3 separate regions of the Homo sapiens genome follow, and all the other regions are linked to region 3. The links are contacts of gene promoters, found by promoter capture Hi-C in blood cells and fetal thymus (Javierre and others, 2016). All regions are on one chromosome and are shown on one strand. The core of a region is centred on a gene start or on the middle of the fragment in contact, and the rest is flanking DNA. Distances in the headings are between cores, read along the strand shown. Region 1 overlaps PLEKHA1 (pleckstrin homology domain containing A1). Region 2 overlaps PLEKHA1 (pleckstrin homology domain containing A1). Region 3 holds the start of HMX2 (H6 family homeobox 2).

What was found. Contacts are between HindIII fragments. The CHiCAGO score rates a contact against its expected background, and 5 or more counts as called.
Region 1: a fragment that was not itself captured here is called in contact with the fragment with the promoter of HMX2 in region 3 in 1 of 17 cell types (naive CD4 T cells); the score reaches 5.6 in naive CD4 T cells.
Region 2: a contact is called between a fragment that was not itself captured here and the fragment with the promoter of HMX2 in region 3, in 1 of 17 cell types (total CD8 T cells). The highest score is 5.6, in total CD8 T cells.

What each region holds. Positions count from the first base shown.
Region 1 is chr10:122,376,456-122,380,174 of GRCh38, reverse strand. The region is part of intron 1 of PLEKHA1 (pleckstrin homology domain containing A1); the gene reads right to left. Among named protein-coding and RNA genes, the nearest start is that of PLEKHA1, 3.6 kb to the right of the region's middle. The HindIII fragment of the contact is 407 bases long and covers 1,888-2,294 here.
Region 2 is chr10:122,411,943-122,415,878 of GRCh38, reverse strand. It overlaps PLEKHA1 (pleckstrin homology domain containing A1), which reads right to left. Exons shown (of 12, transcript NM_001001974.4): 6 at 2,834-2,959; 7 at 1-20. Among named protein-coding and RNA genes, the nearest start is that of MIR3941, 3.1 kb to the left of the region's middle. The HindIII fragment of the contact is 347 bases long and covers 1,704-2,050 here.
Region 3 is chr10:123,146,054-123,150,036 of GRCh38, reverse strand. It overlaps HMX2 (H6 family homeobox 2), which reads right to left and starts at 1,901. Exons shown (of 2, transcript NM_005519.2): 1 at 1,391-1,901; 2 at 1-467. The coding sequence starts at 1,658. RefSeq lists silencers at 1-84, 1,192-1,321, 1,712-2,031. The HindIII fragment of the contact is 9,748 bases long and covers 1-3,190 here.

The DNA of each region.
Region 1 (3,719 bases), core at 842-3,341, 770 kb after region 3:
ATAGAAAGTTGTTTCTTCCTCATCAGACAAGAATCATTTACCAGATTTAACTGATTTATTTAAATAATGGAAGGAAAAAGTTTCAAATACTGTATTTCCACTTAAATTTATATTTTTAGTGAAACTTACATGAGGCAAAACCAGACACAATTATATTATTAACATGCCTCCCAACCCAAATTTCTCCTTCAGCTTTACTCATACTCTAAGGTATAGTTAGATCTTACAAATCAGTCATAAATTAACATAATTACAGTTAACACCTCATCAGTCAGGAACCAGGAAGCCAAAAAATAAGGCAAAACACAGAAACAGCCTGAGTGATATAAGAAAAAGCAAAGAAAAATTAAATTCTGTACAGTGAGACCTCAACAGGCCCACAAGACTTCACTATTATTTGTTAAAACATGTCGAGTGGGACTAGTCCTGTTGCCCCACAATCACTGACAAACACAAAGCTGAGGATATATAGACATAGAGGATCAAATATCTGTAGAGTCAGGCATGGCTCTGGCACCCTAATCAGCACCATCCTTCCACTCTGCAAGAGCAGTTGACAGAAGAGAGGGAAAGAACTGTAAGTCTTCAGGGAGAACGCAGGGAAAAGAAGGAGGTCTTCACCAAAACAGTGGCAGGGGCCTCTAACAGAAATCACTCATGAAGATCAGAGGAGCCTAGAACAGACTTGCATCCCATTCTCCAGTTCCACATCTGCTTATGCAGCAGACTGAGTGACTGACCCCATGTGTCTACTTGAAAAGGGGGACAAAGAGAATTGATGAGAAATGGCAGGGCACAGAAAGAAGGCAGACTTAAGTAGTCTGTATGCCACTATTCGACATCACAAGGAAGTGAGTTTCCAGTGGGTTGAATAGAAACCACAGCGTACCTGGATTGAAGTTGTTTTGCCATTATCAAAATATCTCGCTGCAGAGAGAAAAGATCTCCACCCCGACTCACACACATTCACGTAACCAGTGGGTAAACTGACAGGATGGGAGCAAGCAGATGGGTGTGTAGGTTGGAAAAGGTTTAGCTACAGAAAATTTCATACCCAGAAACTGTGCAGCAGGAGTCTCCCTGCAAGATCTCACCAAAAATGCCAGTTTGGTTGCCTATTAGTAGACTGCAATGGCCTGCCACTGTTAATCAAGAGAGGACTCTAATAGCACCAGATAACAAACACTTGTCTTTTTCTACTTCTCTTCTTGACACATTTGTATCCAAATAGATCCCTTAAGAGGGAAAGGAAAGAAGTATCCCAGGAGCTTACCACAAGCCGTCCATACCCCAAGTGCTTCAGTAAGTAAGTGGCCTGACCACAGGGTAAGGAAGGGAAAAAAAACCTTTAAATTGAATATATATGAGATTGAATGTTCAAACTGGAATAGACTGCAATTTTTTGTTTTTGTTTTTCTGTTTTTTTTTTTTTTTTGGAGACAGGGTCTCACTCTCCTGTCACCCAGGCTGGAGTGCCACAGCACAGTCTCTGTTCACTGGAACCTCTGCCTCCCAGGCTCAAGGGATCCTCCTACAACAGCCTCCCAACTAGCTGGGACTACAGGCACATGCCACCACGCCCGGCTGATTTTTCTATTTTCTGTAGAGACAAGGTTTCGTCATGTTGCCCAGGCTGGTCTCAAACTCCTGGGCTCAAGCTATCCTCCCACCTCGGCTTTCTGAAGTGCTGGGATTACAGGCATGAGCCACTGAGCCCAGCCTAGAGCTTTTTGATAACTGTAAATGACAGAAAAGCTATCATTTACCCATGATGTTATGGGGGGTGGGGGACAGGGGGGTGGGAAAGAGCCTACAAAATACAGTTAAAGGCAGTGAATAGTGAAAATTAAAACTCATTAAAACTCTTGTGTTTGTTCTCAGTAAGCTTGGACTGCTGAATAACCTGATGACATATGCAATAGCATTCTCATCCTTAATAATGGGAGGGAACACCTGACATGGAAATTCTCAGGAGGGATTTACTGTACCGGGTAAGATGCTACATTAGAAGCCCTCTGACATCACTTCCAATTCTAGTGCCTGTGATCGTCTTTTCCTTCAAGAGGTTAAATTCAATCCAGAATCTAGAGTTCAATGGTTAAACCATAAAAGGCTAGGCTGCCTAAAGGGCTAAAAACCACAACTTTCTGGAGAATAAAGCTATCAGACTGACAAGCCTGGTAAGAGTTCCATGTAGGAAACAATATTTTGCTCTAAAACTTATTTAACTTAAAAAAATCTTAAATGACTAATTTTCTTTTATATCCAACAGAAATTCCAGTTCAAAGAAAGCTTATAAAATCCCAAAAACCCTATCTTCCTGAATATTATCAATTCAACTAATTAAAAGGCTTACTAAAATAAATAGCAAACATATGTTTGCTTAAGCATCTTCTAGGAATCACAAACTCACATATCCCTTATTAGACAGTACCCACAAGAAAAAAAGTTACTTAGGGTCAAATGGTTTAATATTGCTCAGTAAGTGTAAGAGAGTTCTAGTGCTATAACAAATAACAGGATGCTTTATGTTTACATAAAAACATCCCATATTTTTATGTTTCTAAAAATAATTAAGCATTATAAACAATCATCTAAAGCTACCAAGTTTTCTGCCCTTTCTGAAAGCATTCCTTTCAGACACCATGTCAATAAATTCTTAAATGCTGGATGTGTACTCACAAATGGTCAAAAAACCTAAAACCAAATCTTAATATTTAACTCCTATTGAAGTCATTTTATTGTATCATTGCAGATCTAAAACAAGATTTTTTAATCTTGAAATTTAAATTTTAATATTAACAAAAGTAAACTGCTCCAGCATGAGAAAAGTAATTATTTGCATATTACCTCAGCTCACAGTTGGAATCAAATAGGAAATACTTTAAGGCAGTTAGTTATATCAACCCAAAATTTTCTAATAAAAGCAATGTTACTATTGTCACAAATAATTACTACACTATATTCAGAAAACTATCTTCCCCATTCTCAAATAAGTTATTTAAACAATAATGACTTGACATCAAGCAATATGTCAATGTCAAAGTATGACTTAAATTATATTAATAAACTATTTATTAGATTTCATTCTGGGTTACAAATTATCACACAATTAAAATAACTTCGGGATTTGCAGCATGACTAATAATAATAAAGAACTTCCAGGCTTAAGTCAAAAAGCCACTTTGTTTAAATCTCCATTAAATGTTTTTTGTGGGGGGAAGTCCCCATAAAAATGTAAAATGTTTCCACCTTTCCCAAGTATCTTCCTAGGAGTGGTCAATATTGTCATATCCTATATGTTAGCAAACGATACTTGAATGACTTTTAAAGAAAAGAATCCAATGCTATTCTTAACATCCTTAAACACTTCTAAAAAGGTCCTTCCGGCTTATGAACTCATGGCAGTTTCCTCACAATTGTATACTTATCCTGTTTCACTGTCTCTCCTAGTCTATGACAAACTCAATTTTACACACCATCTTTCCTATTTTGTTACACTGCTAAAACTGGGGAGAAAAAAAGATACAAACCTGCTACTTTCCCCCCTCCCAAAGCGACAATGAAAATACTAATTAACAAGATAAAGATTGGAAGCTCTGCGCGCGCCCGCGCGGTGTGTATACACATATATTTATATTATATATATATATATATATATATATATATATATCTTCTTAATGTCACTAAATTCACAGCCATATATCTTGATACAGGTA
Region 2 (3,936 bases), core at 628-3,127, 730 kb after region 3:
CATTCATTTACTTCTTCTTTCTAAAATGAAGCAAAATAAATAAATTATTTTCTTGCTTGTTTAGCATACTTTTATTTCATATTATCCCAGTAGAAAATCTTAAAATCCACCTTAGATTAGTCAGAAACAGATTTTTGAAGAGTTTTCTAATTAATCTGAGATACTTACTCTTAATTTTCCTGTCACTGATTAAAGCACAAATTTCCATTCCTCTTGTTTTGCACAAGTCCTGCCACCAGTGCTCTTTTTTGGGGAAGGAGTTAACTTTTTATTTTGAAATAATTATAAGGATTCACCAGAAGCTGCCCAAAAAAAGTACAACAGGTCCTATGTACCCTTTCACTAGTTTCCCCTCAAAGGGAAACGGCGTAACATTATCAAAAAACAAGAAATGGACATTGGCACAACCCACAAACTTTATTCGGATTCCACCAGTTTTACATACATTCATCTATGTGTGTCTATACAGTTCTATGCAGTTTTATCACATGTGTAGATCTGTGTAACTACTACCACATTTAAGACCCAGAATTGGTCATCACCCCAAGGCTCCTTTGTGAACTTTAGAGTTCCTACCCCTAAATCCCCTGGCAGCCACTAATCTGTTCTCCAAGACTATAATTTTGACATTTTGAAAATGTAATGTAAATGGAAGCATACAGAAGGTTATCTTTTGAGATTATCTTTTTTCACTCAGCATAATTCTCTAGAGATTCGTCCAGACTGTTCCTTGTATCTAGAGTTCATTCCTTTTTATTGCTATATTTCCATGGTATGGATGGATGACCAGTTGTTTAACTGTTCACCCATTAAAGGACATTTGAGTTGTTTCCCACTTTTAGCTATTAGGAAAAAAGCTGCTATCAACATTCATGCACAAGTTTTTATGTGAATGTAATTTTCCCTTTCTCTACGATAAACACCTAGTCCTGCAAATGCTGGGTTGTACAGTAATCACAAGCTTACTTTTATTATTAAAAAAAAAACAAAACATAAACACTAAACTGTTTTTCAGAGTGGCTAATTTTCATTCCCACCAGCAACACCTGAGAGATTATGTTTCTCCTCAACCTTGGCAGCATTTGTGTCGTCACTTTTATTTCAGCCATTCTGAGAGGTGTGCAGTGATCTTTTATTGTGCTCTTAATTTGTATTTTTTCCCTGCTAGCTAATGATGGTGAACATCTTTTCATGTGCTTACTTACCATCTGTTTATCTTTTATCTTTTGATGAAATATCTGTTCATGAATTTTCTAATTGGATTTCTTGGGCTTTTTACTGTTGGGTTCTGAGTTCTTTCTATGTTCTAGATAAAAGTCCTTTGTTGGACATGTGGTTTGCAAATATTTTCTCCCAGTTTGTAGCTTTTCTTTTCATCCTCTTAAGAAGGTCTTTCATAGAGCAAGTATTTTTTATTTTGATGAGGTCCAATTTACCAATTTTTGCCTTTTATGATAGACATATATTATTTTATAATTTTTAAAACTATACTACAAAATAAATGATGCAATAAAATTATACCCTCCATAAAATCCTAGAAACTACTGAAATATCTATACCAAAATTACAATGCAACAAAATCTTAACTCTAGACAAAATTAAAACAGCCACAGATACAAACTAATACAGTGTCTTAACACAACTACAGGAAAATAGTCTTACCCCTTATGTCAACATAGGTCATAATACCAGTGAAAGAAGCTTAATCTAGGTACATAGTAACCAGAAGGTTAACAGTTTAAAATCATTACTTTTGGAAAAAGTAAACACACAATCCTAGCTTATTTTTTTATCCAACTTTGGTGGAAAATGTATGCTCTATGACAGCAGGGAATTTCTGTTCATTAACATACCCTTTGCCAAGCATAAAGAAAGCACTCAATAGTTAATTAATTAATTAATGTTGTAAGATTTCTAATCCCACTAATCACCCTCCCGTAGCAAAAGACCTGAAAAATGTGGGGAATGATACAATTTGATTTAAAAGATTTATAAAGTGTCAAAGTCTTTTGAGTTCAAAAGGCACACTGGTAATGAAAATACCCAAGCTTGGCAATACCAATTGATTACTTTAAAATTCTTGGTTTCTCAACTACTAGTAACTTAATATCCATTACAAATTCATCCTTTTCAATAGCAAAACAAGAAATTCAAGCTCAGACAAGAGTTTTAATTTCATCAAAAATTGTATGTAAATTTATATTTTTCCTAAAACTCAAATAAAGACTTAATTTAGCATATTAGTACTTCTGAGATATAACTTAGTTAAAATTCCAGTCTTCTGTTTAGCTCACTTAGGCCAGGTTGTAGAAAAAATAGATTTTAAAAATTACTACTTGCAAACTCTTGACTCAGCAATTTTATTTCTAGGAATTTCTCCTTTAAGAATATTCATCATAGCATTGTTTATAAAGTAAAAGAAACAAAAAGGAAAAGGAACTCTATTTGTCCAATAGAGGATTTGTAATTTATGGTAAATCCATGGAAGAACTACTATGCACTCATTAAAAATGATATAAAAGGATTTCTGATGACTTGGAAAATGTTCATGATACAAGTGAAAAAATCTGTTTACAAAATGTAATATACAACTCATATCTCCATTTCTGAGGTGAAAAGTACATGAAGAAAGGCTCAGAGAAATCATGAGAAGTTTTAAATGTTATGTAATTTCCAAATTTTTTATAATAAATACTTTTGAAATAAACAAAAATATTTTATAGTAATTGTATATTATACCAATTAAGCAAAGATGCACTGTTTTAGTTTTAATAATATAAAAATCAATATACAATAATTAGACCCTCACACAATAGAAGAGTTACTTAATTACCTGAGTGGGAGTAATGATGGGTACGCCACCAACAATATCAGTTCTGTAAGACACTTGCTTTTTCCCACATTCACCATGGCGACTTAGGTTATCAGAATTAGGCTGTGAGTCTGACTGCTTTGGTACCTGAAATAGTAAATAAAATGAATCATTTTGCAACCAGCATTATACATGTGAACCTGTTTTCTCGCAGAATTTCTAATTATTCATCCGTTTGCATACGGTTGACAGATACATATAAAAATTATAGTCCATGTATGTACTCCTTAAGTTATCACACTAATTTTTCTGTTAGAATAATATTTTATAATATAGCTATCACGTAATGAGTGCTTACTCGGGCAGGTACTAGTTCACACATTTTTCTCCTTTACTACTCCTGTCTACCCTATGCATAGGGGCTCTACCCCCACCTAAGAGGTAAGGAAATAGGCTCAGGGGCATTAGGGAATATAGATTCAGATCCTGACTATAATACATTCTAGCCAAGTGTGTGTAACTCTTCCAAGCCCAACTGCTGTGCTCTAGACCCTGTTTATTGGCACACTTACTATTGGCTTACAGCTCTTTGCTGTTTTCTTCCCTTTCTCCATTCCTACCCATGATTCTGGGATTGTGGCATATTCAGTCTTTCCTGGCTTCAAGACAGAGACTATTACCAAAACCATAGTGTATTCAATAAATGTTGAAAGACTCAATGGATGAATCCAAAGTCAGCAGAAAAAAGAATAGCAAAATTCTTAAAACAAATCAGAAGTTTCAAAACAAAACTTTTCATTAGAAATTTAAAGAAGGAATTCCAATACTTGGATCAATGATAAATCGTTCACAAGTACAGGAAAACAATGACTGTGGTAACAGCAGAATCTCACATTAACACCTCACTAAAGTGGATGAAAGAATCAGAGGTATCATAAATTTTTAACATATATTTTTGCTTTTCTTATGTGATCTATTCAGTAAATAAGGTACTCAGTTAATCATTATTTCTATCTGTAGACTGTTTAGCACATAGTCTGTATTTAAATTATACATTTTTAAGGCTGTGAATAAAATGTAATAAAATCTGCTCAGCATCAATTATAATGTTGAACATGATTTAG
Region 3 (3,983 bases), core at 652-3,151:
CGAGCGCGGCACCGGCACGCGCAGCAGCGAACTGTCCCGGAACACCAGCGGCATGCTCACCAGAGTCTGCGCCGACGCGTGCGCCATGTTGGCCGCCTCCAGCTCAGCCGAGAGCTGCCGCTTCCACTTGTTGCGGCGGTTCTGGAACCAAGTCTTTACCTGGGTCTCCGTGAGCTGCAGGCTGGAGGCGAGGCAGGCGCGCTCCGAGCTGCTCAGGTAGCGCTTCATGTCGAAGGTGGACTCGAGCTGGTACACCTGGCTGCGCGAAAAGACGGTGCGCGTCTTCTTCTTGGCCGCGCCGGCCTGCCGCTCAGCGCCGCCGTCCCGCGGCCGCTCGGACCCCGGCGAGGGCGAGCCCGCGGGCAGGAGCCTCTCTTTCTCTTCTTTAAAGTCCGAGTGCGAAGGAGAGAGGAAAGGCGTGCGCTCCAAGCCGCCCGGGCCCGAGCCTCCGCTGCCCTTGGGGGTACCTGAGGAGCGAGAACAGACAGAAAGGCCATGGAGTTGGTTGGGGAGCCTCGGAGACCGCCAGCTCTCCCTGGGACCAAGCGGTTGGCAAGCGCCTGCAGCCTTGGTCCCACCTTACCAATCCCCTCCTCTTATCCCTCTCACTGGCCCCCCAAACCCAGCACCCCGTCCTTTAAAAGCGACAAGAGAGGGACCCAGCTACTTGGAGTATGGGGTCTCTGTGCTCCCACCTTTATGAATGGGCCAGGGGCAACAGGGAGAGGAGGTCTGGAGGGGGAAACATTAGCATGGTTTTAAAAGGCGAATTTGCTTGGTGGTAATTGAGCTGGAAGAGTTCCTCGAGCTTTATAGGGTGGCATCATTTCACAGGCCGTTTGTTTGGAAATCACGCTAAGGACTAACGCAGGACTCCCCTTCGTCAAATGTTGTAAAGAGGAACCGTCTCTGAAATGCACCATTGTCAATCATCTTGGAGTGCTAATCATTCCAAGGAGGAGAGAGAGAGAAAGGCAGAGATACGGAGCGAGTGAGGAAGAAGACTCAGAAAGAGATTACGGTGGAGACAGACTGCCCAGACCCGACTTGCAGATCTCCACCTCGTGTCCGGAAAGAAAGTACCAGATGTGCAGTGATTGAGGACAGCCGGGTGTAAGGCCGGCCGCGTGTCCCTCTCGCTGTGGTCCACTCTCTCAACAACTCAACCTTCCCCAGGAAGCCCAAGCCGGCACGGGTCTGTGTTCGCCTGCTCCCAGGGGCCCACCGGGCGGAGGAGGCACCACAGTGCGCGCCCCTCTCCCCGCGGTCCCGAACCCCCGGCTGCCGCAGCTCTGGCCAGAGGGGGCCCGGCGCGGGAGTCTTGGCGGGGCGCTCAGCCTCCCTCCCCTCGCGCTCGCTCGCTGCCACACTGGCGACGTGCGATCCTTACCCAGGCAAGGAAAAGGGATGGGGGGATGGTGCTTGGGGCCCTGCTCCTTAGGGCCGTGCTGGTCTGGGCAGAAGCAGGCGGGCGCCTTCCAGCCGTCGTCCGGCTCCTCCTCCTCCGAGGACACGGACAGGCTGCGCTTCCTGGCTGGCCAGCCGACGGGCTCCCGCGGTGCCTCCGAGGGGCCCCCGCCCAGGATGGACTGGATGGTGAAGCTGGAGACGCCACCGGCCGCCGGACACCCCTTGCCCGCATCTTCTTTGCTGCCCATCCTGGGTTCATAAGAAATCGAAGGAAACCAAGAACTCCCTTTAGAGACGATCTGGGTGATCTGGGTGGAAGGTGGTGCAGCAGGCAGGCAGTGGGGAGGGGCGGGGAGGAAATCTAGGGGGAGGGGGCGCCGAGGCTGGTGAGGCGTCCCTTCCGCGCCAGGGACATGCAGGCACCGGATGGCTGCGCAGGGGTTCCTGCCCGCCTGGCTCTGGGTGCGCCCGCCCAGCCCCGGTGCAAATGCCCCTTCCTCGCCCGCCAACTCGCCGGGTCTCCGGCGGCGCGGAGGCGGCGCGGCCTCATTTGCATAGAGGTTACCCGAACGCGGCCAATCGCAGCGCCGCCGAGCGGCCCCGGAAAATTTCAAAACGCTCCGGCCAGGCACACAGCACCGGTGCGCCCCCAGAGCGCGCCGAGGGCCTGGCGGGCATCAGCGGCGTCTAACCAGGGGCAGCCAGGGCTGAAAGCAGCTGCAGATTCTAGCCCGGGTTCCTGGCGGCTGCGGCAACTCCGACTCCTTGGACCCCTTGGACCCTTCTCTCCAGAGGCAGGGGCGGTGCGGGACTCGGAGCTGGAGTGGCTCGACGCCTCCGCAGGCGACGGGTCTCCGCGCCTCCCAGGGGCTTGTACAGGCTGCTCCACCATCCTCCCCCAGCCCTCCACCCCTTCTAGCCCCAGTGGGCGGGCAAAGCCGGCACTCCTGGGACCGTGGCGCCCTGCGTGGGGGTGAGGTGGGTTAGGAGCAGGCGTCTCCAGGCGGACGCTCATCCTCTCCAGCATGGCCAGGAGCCTTGGGAGCAGACATTCCCCTTCCCCGTCTGCAGACCTCATCCCTGTCACAGGTTCTACGGACCTACAGAATCTTTAGGGGGAGGGAGGAAGCCCTAAGACCTCTAGTCAAGAGATCTGGGTTCAAATTCCGGCACAACTATTTACACACTGCATGAACTTGCACAACTCATGCCGATTAAAGCCTCTCTGCCCTCATAGTTGAAAATAACTTCTCGGATTGCCTCAGGTAGGGATTAAAAGCCTCGAAGCACTAGCAGCGCATAGTAGGTACTCCATAAACCTGGCCGGGTAGCCCATGGCCCACCCGTGTTTTAAGCGAATCTGTGTTTTTGTTTTGTAAATTTTGAAGGTTTCCGAACTGCTGCAGAAATAGACGCCTTACTCCCAGGAAGAAGATAAGGAACTGGTGACAGGACTCGGTTTTAGAATTGAGCAGACTCGACTCAATTCTCGGCTGGGTGATCTTGGGGGAAGACATTTGGAAATTCTGAGGCTCGGTTTCTTTATTCCTAAAATTGGAGGAAGCAGTGCCTCCCTCGCAGAGGCTGTTGTGAGGTCAAACTACCCAGCACCGAGCCTGGCACACCGTGGTGCTCAGTAAATAGTGATTCCCTCTGTGTTCTCATAGCCCCCTTCTGTGCCCTGGCTCTCGCCCCTTTAATTCCTAGATCAGCTGTTACCCGAGCTAGAATTAGCCCAGCCAAGCAAAGCGGTTTGGGGCCACAGTCGTCTGCACAAGCTTCCTGGAAACTGAAGTGAGGCAAGGCCCGAAGTGCTCAGGCAACCCCGTCCCCTCAAGCTGTGACCTCTAGACCTCTTGGCCAAGAGATTCCAGAAGCCCTGTCTTTAGGGTGCCCCCCAAGTGCAGCCAAGGGTGAGTGGAGACTCTGGAATCAGTCCCCACAAATGTCCAGACACTGCATGACTGTGCAGTTCCTTCCTCGCCTGCACCGCGCCCGGGTTATTAAGTAAAGCGCTTATAATATCATTAGCCGCGGTGAGTTACCGACTGCGGCCCTGCCCGTGGCAGAACTCTTCCCTACTTAACTCCTCGAGGGGCTCGTTAATGGGCTAATTGATTAGGAGTCGGCCGCGCAGCCGGGGCAGGGGCAGGCGAGGGGGCGGGGGCCAGGGGGTGCGCGCAGCGGCCCGGGAGGCCAGCGAGGGGCAGGTGCCGGCCTCCGTCACCGCATTAACCTCTTCAGGGCTCAGCGGCAGGGTCGAGACACATTACAAATGGTCAGCTTTAATCATGGTGTCAGCTCATTAACCCGGAAGGACCTGGCGCTGAAATACAATTTGTGCGTTCTCCTCTGCGCCGCGGCGGCGCAGGCTCCTGGGCCACGTCGCAGCGGGTCCCGCGTGCTCCCGCGCTGTTGGGGGGTACGCGGGAGGTTCAGCGAAAGAATCGTCGGATTCTCACTAACCATCCGCTTCTCGCAGACATCCTGAGCTAGGCGCTGCCTCCGGAGCCAGGGTCAAGGCAGCCCCGAGGGGAACTGGCCAGCTAACTCGGGGAGCAGTGCCAGCCACC